3 separate regions of the Homo sapiens genome follow, and all the other regions are linked to region 3. The links are contacts of gene promoters, found by promoter capture Hi-C in human tissues and cell types (Jung and others, 2019). All regions are on one chromosome and are shown on one strand. Each heading gives the region's core, a stretch centred on a gene start or on the middle of the fragment in contact. The rest is flanking DNA. Distances are from core to core; before and after follow the strand shown.

Evidence for each region. Contacts are between HindIII fragments. The study calls those that stand out against the background at their distance.
Region 1: a contact is called between a fragment that was not itself captured here and the fragment with the promoter of NSUN7 in region 3, in 1 of the 25 tissues and cell types used here (lymphoblastoid cells).
Region 2: a contact is called between a fragment that was not itself captured here and the fragment with the promoter of NSUN7 in region 3, in 1 of the 25 tissues and cell types used here (lymphoblastoid cells).

The regions. Positions count from the first base shown.
Region 1 is chr4:41,640,331-41,643,385 of GRCh38, forward strand. The region is part of intron 14 of LIMCH1 (LIM and calponin homology domains 1); the gene reads left to right. Among named protein-coding and RNA genes, the nearest start is that of LIMCH1-AS1, 51 kb to the right of the region's middle. The HindIII fragment of the contact is 7,085 bases long and covers 1-3,055 here.
Region 2 is chr4:40,177,445-40,180,467 of GRCh38, forward strand. It overlaps a transcript of N4BP2 not described here. Among named protein-coding and RNA genes, the nearest start is that of RHOH, 18 kb to the right of the region's middle. The HindIII fragment of the contact is 6,789 bases long and covers 1-3,023 here.
Region 3 is chr4:40,748,585-40,751,284 of GRCh38, forward strand. NSUN7 (NOP2/Sun RNA methyltransferase family member 7) reads left to right here and starts at 1,371. Exons shown (of 12, transcript NM_024677.6): 1 at 1,371-1,716; 2 at 2,019-2,407. The coding sequence starts at 2,110. The HindIII fragment of the contact is 15,367 bases long and covers 1-2,700 here.

The DNA.
Region 1 (3,055 bases), core at 15-2,514, 890 kb after region 3:
TTCATCAATGCAAGGCTGCTATACAATTTGCTTAAAATAGACCCCTGGGAAAGGTGAAAGAAAGGAAGGGAAATTAAAGAGTTTCTGAATTTTGCCTTCACCTGAACACAAAACTTCACCCACAGGAAAAGTTAATGATTTCTTAAAAGGGGTGGGGACAGGGACTCCCTTCTTGCCTTCTCTAAGTTTACAAAATGCAGCCCCAGGGACCAAGAAGAGTAAAAGGAGCTTTTTTTCCAGAGCTCTTATCTAGGGATATCCAAAGTGCTGAGTTTCCTGCTTAGAGCAGATACAATTTACATGAAACCATGTGGGGAACAAAATGAAAAGTTGATATCAGGAATTTATTCTTAAAATAGAAACTTATACTATTTTTAGTTTATTCCCTTAATATCTCCTTTTTCCAAAATCTTTAAAGGCAGTTTTTTGGCACAGGCTATATTTATTAATAATTGACACATTCTTAAAATAGAGCCCAATCAAAAAAAAGATGAGCCCTTTAAGGAGAATATAGGTCAGGGGCAGACCTACCGCACAGGCAAACAGAGAAATTTCCACCTCCTAACCAGCCAAGAATGTTTCCATAGATTTAATTTCACCTTCTTGCCCTTTTCTTCACTTTCACACTCTTTCCCTCCCAATACCTGGCCCACCAAAGGAGTCGGTACGTTGTGAGAGCCATAGGCCATTTTATTCTGAATTCCTTTACGGTAGACTTGGCCCAGAAACAATTTCCAGGCCCTTGGGGTAATTCCATCCCGGCCCTCAAAAATGCCAACCCACCACCAAGGGAGACTCCTGGACTCTGCAGCCAGGAGCCCTCATCCCAACAGCCCAAGGGCATAGACGTAGGTACTGAGGAGCACAGGATTAGTCCAAGTCACATTAATATTCTGGAAGCTGGCCATCTCCAGGATCCCATATCCGCCAACCCCCATCCCCAGACACACACCTCTTCATTTGGGAGGCCAAGTCTAACCTGAACTAGGGAACATGTTCTGAATGACAACTCAGCCCATTTTCTTTCTAGTATTATCAATTCTCAACTTCTTAATTTTTTTTTGAAAATGGCATAAATATATCACTCATAGGTTTGTTATTTCTTTTTTGGCCAGTTTGCTGATATTTCTTAAAAAAAAAAAATCTTGAGAAAAAAAATCATACAGGTTGAGCCTGCCTTATAGAAAATGTTTGGAATGAGAAGTGTTTCAGATTTTGAACTTTTTTAGATTTTGGAATATTTGCATATACATAGTGAAGTATCTTGAGGATGGAACCCAAGTCTAAACATGAAATTCATTTATGTTCCATATATACCTTATACATATAGACTGGAGGTGATTTTATACAATAGTTTAAATAATTTTGTGCATGAAACAAAGTTTTGGCTGCACCCCATCACACAAGGTCAGGTGTGGAATTCTCCACTTGTGGGGTCATGTCAGCATTCAAAGAGTTTTGGAGTTTGGAGCATTTCAGATTTCAGATTTTTGGATTAGGGATGTTCAACCATGTACTTCCTGGTACATGAAAGGGCAAACGAGTTTCTCCTTTTATTTAACTAACTGGCTTCTGGCCACATTTGGGCTGAGCTAGTTAGAGCTTCACAGTGGGAGTAGAGATGGGAACGCAGGACAGACAAAGGTAATTCTTAAGGTCTGCTCTCATTTTCTCCATGCCCATTGGGTGAGATAATCAAATCCCAGATCCTGGAGAAGGCTGCCATTTTCTTCTTGGGGTCCCAGAAGAAAACCTGGATCTATGGCCACCCATAGTGGCCTAAACCAAAATTCTGACCTGTAGATATTATAGATGGCAGAGTTGAATGAAGGGACCTCTTTTCTCTCCCATAATCTACAAACTACTTAGTGGGATGGTAAGAGGGTCCCAGCTCAGAGAGGTTTAAGTCTTCTAAGATCTTAGCAAAGATTATAAATCACCTTAAAAGATGAACTGACTAGATTGAATATTTTAAAAGTAAGATTTTTTTTTTTTAAACTGTGAGAGGAAGAATGGGACGAATTTTTGTGTCTTTCTGGAAGGCCTGCTTAAGTGAATTTTGATCCATGAAGTTTAAAAGCATGGGTTAGACTTTTCTACCTAATCCTGCAAATTTCTTAATCTTTCTTAGATACCATTAATCAATAGTCTAAAATAGATGAAAAATCACAGCCCTTCTCCTCTATCGAGGACTACAGTTTCTTTCTTTTTCTTTTCTTTCATTCTTTATTTTATTTTATTTTTTTGAGATAGAGTCTCGCTCTGTCACCCAGGCTGGAGTGCAGTGATGTAATCTCAGCTCACTGCAACTTCTGCCTCCCAGGTTCAAGCCATCCTCCTGCCTCAACCTCCCTAGTAGCTGGGACTATAGGCGTGTGCTAGCATGCCTAATTTTTTTTCTTTTTTCTTTTTTTTTTTTTGTATTTTTAGTAGAGAAGGGGTTTCACCATGTTGGCCAGGCTGGTCTTGAATTCCTGACCTCAAGTGATCTGCCCACCTTGGCCTCCCAGAGTGCTGGGATTACAGGCGTGAGCCACCACACCTGGCCCAGCTTATTTTTTCTAGAAGCCACAGCTGCTGAAATCAACATTCTCCACTGAATACATGGAGGCAGCATTATGCAATGGCTTGTCATATCCATGCTAATAGAAACCTCAGCTAAGAGTCCTTCTGTGCAGCCAGATTATTAGAATACTCTTGGGGAAGACAGGTTACAAGTACAGTTTTTCAGTTTAGTTCTCTTAGACTTAAATTGTCCAACATCTGGAGAGCAGAGAGAGGCACTCACACATTTATACACATTCCTTTTGAGTGGATTGAAGGGAAGGTGGGCAGCCATTGCTTTGGGGGTCATCTTCCAGACAGCTGCCTGCTAGGGAGCCCTTTGCATTCGGCGATGCTGCTGCTGTTCATTGTCTGGCCATGGGAGTAACAATTTTGGACATCATTGATGATGTCTGGAATTCTTTGGTGTCTAAGTGCATGGTAGTTTTTTTTTTCTTTGTGTTAGGCTGGTTTCAAAAATGGACTGTCACCATATTTTGTTGCTAGCACT
Region 2 (3,023 bases), core at 396-2,895, 570 kb before region 3:
GTTTCTACTAAAAATACAAAAATTAGCTGCGCATGGTGGCAGGTGCCTGTAATCCCAGCTACTCTGGAGGCTGAGGCAGGAGAATTGCTTAAACCCCGGAGGCAGAGATTGCAGTGAGCTGAGATCAAGCCACTGTACTCCAGCCTGGGTGACAGAGCAAGACTCTGTCTCAAAAAATAAAATAAATAAGAAGAAAAAAAATAAAGACTTCTACCTCAACTAGAGCACAGACTCCGTGTGAGGATATCTGATTTTCAGTATCAAATGCTCTCATTTTCTAGTGTCAGATCCCTCATTTGTAGAGTGTAAGGCTTTGGCTCTCTTTACGGCTGCTCCCAGCTCTAATGTTCTTCCATCTTCTCTGCAGTCATCTCACATGCAGGGCTCTTTAGGGGACAGCAACTTTATTTTCACAAATCTTACATAGCCCAGGTGCCTGCATGGGTTCACTCTGTCCTTTGAATAAAATAGTCTCAAATAAATGCTTTTGTTATGAAATGAGAGCAACAGAAAACAGAAAGATGAGGCATTTAACTTAAGCAACCAGAAAAAAACAAAAACAAAAAAACAGTAAGTAGAAAGTAAGGTGCCTGTAATCCTAGCTACTCAGGAGGCTGAGGCAGGAGAATCGCTTGAACCCAGGAGGCGGAGGTTGCAGTGAGCCGAGATCATGCCACTGCACTCCAGCCTGGGTGACAGAGCGAGACTGGGTCCAACAAACAAACAAACAAAGAACCCAACAAAACAAAACAAAACAGGAGGATGAATTCTTTGCTCAGAAATGTGTACAATCTAAAAACAATCTTTACCTTTCTCTCAACTGTCAGTGTCAACACAAATGGGATAGAATCAGAAATGAATAAATTGGAAAATAATGATAAAGCAAGAGTTAGCAAGTAAAATCAAAAGTTGTTCCTTTAAGATATATAAATGTTGTAGGAAAACCTCCGGCAAGACTACTCCCCCGCCCCGCCACCAAAACAAAAAAAAAAAGAAAAGAAAAACCTTCATCTTTAGGCACAAGAAAGGTACTCACAGATATGAAAGAGATTGAAGAATTGTAACTAGTGGTACTTGGGCAGCATGTACCTTTCTGGTAGATTTCAATGATTATTAACGTGGGCATACTTTATCATTGTAAAAAACAATCACCACTCTTGGTCTTCCAGCTACCATGCTTAACAAGGACAATATCCAGCTCTCTAGATAACGAAATAAGTTGCCCAGGACAAAACAAAGTTTTGGAAAGGTTTGAACAGACTCCGTCTGCACAGTTTCCTTGAGACATGCGAAATGTGTAGGGAACGAACTTCCTTTCAATATGAGCACACATTTGCCTTCCATGGGATAAGACATGCTTAGTGCAGCTGCTGTCGGAGAGCTCTGTCAGGGCAAGACTCACAGTTGAAACTCCCTGCCTCAAGTTCTTGTATTTGCTTAAACCTGGCTGAGTTTTTGCAGCTGGTACTTCTATTTGATTTGCAGTGTGACACTGCCCTTCTCATTTTCTGTCTTTGTGGTTGCCGATTTTTCATTTTTATTGATAGCAGCAGGTGGCAGAAAGCATAAGACCATTATAAGGAATGGATGTATTTGTGGAGCATTTATTTATGGGTCCTAGTAGATATTAAAACGTTTTGGAGGCTGGGCGCAGCAGCTCATGCCTGTAATCCCAGCAGTTTGGGAGGCCGAGGCGGGCAGATCACAAGGTCAGGAGATCGAGACCATCCTGGCTAACATGGTGAAACCCTGACTCTACTAAAAGTACAAAAAAATTTAGCTGGGTGTGGTGGCTGACGCCTGTAGTCCCAGCTACTTGGGAGGCTGAGGCAGGAGAATGGCATGAACCCGGGAGGCAGAGCTTGCAGTGAGCCAAGATCGAGCCACTGCACTCCAGCCTGGGCGACAGAGTGAGACTCCATCTCAACAAACAAACAAACAAACAAACGAAAAACATTTTGGAAAACTACCATTGAGTCACAGCAAAACTAATAGTAGCTAATGTTTATTGAAATCTTCTGTGTTGCAAGAGGGTGCTAAGCAGTTGGTATGTACTAATTCATTTAATCCTCACAACAGCCATAAGAGGTGTAGAGGCTATTATTATCCCCATTTAACAGTTGAGGAAACTGAGGCACATGGAAATTAAATAATTTTCCTGAGGTTACACAGCATAATCAAGATTTAAACTTGGGCAGGTTGGTGCCAGAGACTGTGCTCTTAACCATTATATTATTGCAATGTAATTTTGAAAGAATGATAAATCATGAATTATAGGAAAATATTGTTTACATTTTAGAGTGGTAAAGCCTTTCTTTTTTTTTTTTTTTTTTTTTTGAGACGGAGTTTCACTCTTGTTGCCCAGGCTGGAGTGCAGTGGAGTGATCTTGGCTCACGACAACCTCCACCTCCTGGGTTCAAGCCATTCTCCTGCCTCTGCCTCCCGAGTAGCTGGAATTACAGGCATGCGCCACCACGCCCGGCTACTTTTGTATTTTTAGTAGAGACAGGGTTTCTCCATGTTGGTCAGGCTGGTCTTGAACTCCTGACCTCAGGTGATCCGCCCACCTCGGCCTCCCAAACTGCTGGGATTACAGGCATGAGCCACCGCGCCTGGCCTAGAGTGGTAAAATCTTTCTAAGCAATTGCTAAACTTAAAAACTTGGGCATGGCAAAAGACACCATAAATAAAATAAAGACAAATGACTGAGAGATAATGTCTGTAACATATAAACAGATTATTGATATCTTTCATATACAAACAACTTTTCTAAACTGATATAACAATATTCAATAGAAAAAAATGGGCACAAGATATAAATATGCCATTTTAGAGGAGAAATACAAATGACCAGTAAATATGTGAAAAGATGTTGAATCTCAATAATAATTAATCAGCAAGACACCACTTTTCAACTAGAAAACTAAAAAAATTTCTGATAAAATCTAAAAAGATTTCTAACATCTGGTGTTGTGATAATGCAGGCAGATAGTTAGTCACTCTCATACATCACTGGTGGACT
Region 3 (2,700 bases), core at 121-2,620:
TGTAGGGCTGAACACAATGCCAGGGACACAGCAAGAATTTAATATATACTTGTTAAACGAACGAATGAATGCATGTATACATAAAATGTTACGGAATGTTTAACGTATTCCGGGGATAATGAAAGTGGGTGGATTTCTGAGAGAAGGGGTCAGGGTTAGAGTTCTGTACTGCTAATTTTTTCCCCATTATCCATTCTCTCCTTCTTCTACAGTAATAGTTCCCTTATTTTTAGCTGGACACATTTACCAGCCTCTTGGTTGCTGGGTATATGACTGAGTTCTGACCAATAAAATGTGAGCCAAAGTGATATGTGCACCTTTCAGGTCATTGAAAAATATGGGCTGCCCTCTCTTTCCCCTTCATCCTACTAACCACTGGCTGGAAATGGAAATGGCCTTAGCCTAAAGAAGGAAGGGCAAATCCCTAAGGAGGAAAGGCAGAGGTGGAATTAGGACCAGTTGTCTTTCAACTATACCAGAGTTTTTCAAACTGTGGTCTTTGGGCTGATTGCATCAGAATCGCCAGTTACCTGATAAAAATGCAAATTACTGGGTCTTAGCAACTCAAATCTCTAGGATGGGTTCCAAGGATTTTTTTTTAGCTGGAGGCGGTGGTTCACGCCTGAAATCCCAGCACTTTGGGAGGCCGAGGAGGGAGGACTCCTTGAGCCCAGGAATTCGAGACCACCCTGGGCAACATAATGGGAACCCTGTCTCTGTTATTAAAAAAAATTATTACAGACGGCGCAGTGGCTCACGCATGTAATCCCAGCACGTTGGGAGGCCAAGGCCGGCAGATCACTTGACGTCAGGAGTTCGAGACTAACTTGATCAACACGGTGAAACCCTGTCTCTACTAAAAATACAAAAATTAGCAGGGTGTGGTGGCGGGCGCCTGTAGTCCCAGCTACTCGGGAGGCTGAGGCATGAGAATCACGTGAACCCGGGAGGAGGAGGCTGCAGTGAACCGAGATTGCGCCACTGCACTCCAGCCTGGGCGACAGAGCGAGACCATGTCTCAAAAAAAAAATTATTACTATATTTTAAAAATATTTTAAAGAATGTGTAGTTTTAACAGGGACTTCAGGAACTTGTGAGTTAAAACCACGGAACTACGTCAGACTACCTCAAAAATATCCCCAAATGTTTATAAACAAAGCCAAGGGCACGCACTCAGGCCCGGTGAGGTCCAGGAACTGTGCAAGAGGCCTCTGGCTCGGAGGGGCTGAAACAGGTGTCTCCGCGCGCTGGGGGAAGAGCGACTCTCCCGGCAACAGGTAGCACCCGCCAAATCCCGCGGGAACGGCCCTCGCGCCGCGCCCCCTGCCCCACCTCCGCTCGCGGTTGCCATGAAGACCCGGTCCGGGAGCAGTCGACTGCCGGAGACTCGGGAGGCTGAGCTTTCCTCGGCCTGAGCCAGCCAGACCCCGGGCACCGCGCTCACCCCTCTTCGCCGCCACGTCCGCGAAGGCCTCACGCGCGAGGCCAGGCGAGGCCCCGAGGCGCCCACCACTTCACGACACCGGAGCGAACCGGGCGCCAGAGGCTGCGACCCCCCTGCCCCGAATCCTGCCGGTGGGAGTGGCTGCATTTGAACCAAACGGCCTTCGCGGGCAGCAGCCGTCGCCCCGCAGTCCCGGGGCTCCCAAGGGCCTGTGACCGACGCCGCCCTCCGCGTCTTCGTCCCCGAAGCCCCGGGAACCATCCGCCCTCGGGGTAAGGGAGGAGTCGGGGGAGCCGGTGACTGGGCTGTGGGGACGCGGACGGGGCTCCGGGGGCAGCTCTGCCCCCAGACTGGCTTGAGGGAAGCCGTCGGTCTCCTTGGGGCTCTTCTCCCTCCGCCGCTGCACCCCTCCTCGCTTTTTTTTTTTTTTTTGAGCGTCCCAGGCTCGAAGTCTGGGACACTCAGATGGGACGGGAAATGCTCCCTCTTAGTCTTTAAGGCCACAACGAAGGGGGCCACCCACAGGGGTGCTGCAGAAAGAGTGATTTACTGCAATCACCTTCTCTCTTCACAGAGACCATGCTGCAGATGCGAGGAAAGCCGTTTCCTGGAACATCGGAATTCTAACCCCAGGGTGAAGGACTCACGACAGGCGAGGGGCAGACATGCTGAATTCCACGGGCGAACTGGAGTTTTCGAACGAAGAAGATCCCGAGATCATCTCCCAACTCACTTCCCTGCCTCTGTCCGGTGGGAAAAGCTCAGCTGGTGTGCCCGAAAAAACGGGCTATCCGGACTCCGTTTATGTCATGGCAGCCAACATTTTTCAGGGTATTCGAATCGAAAAGTCGGCACAGAAAGTCTTAATCAAGTATGGGAATGAACCCCTGCGGTCCTTGTCCGAGTCTGAGGATCAGTCCTTTCAGCGTTTGTCTTATGAGCTGGCTTTCAGTGCCCTGAAATGTGAGTTGTGCCAGTCTGGAAGATCAACACTAAAAGAAAATAATAGCGAGAGAATTTGGGGAATGCAGCCCTCCTCCTCCCTTCCCCTCATTCACACCAGGTTTTGGTTTTAGGCATGTGCATATCTTTGGTTAATTGCAAGTGTCAAGGAATTAGGGTTCCCATGAAACTAGCTCTTCCAGCCCAGGATTGCAGATTTCCCCGTGCACTGTGTTTGTCCTTAGATCGGTGTAGTGCGCGGTCATTACATTCAACAAGGAAACAATTTATTCCAATGATCATTTCCCTCTCCC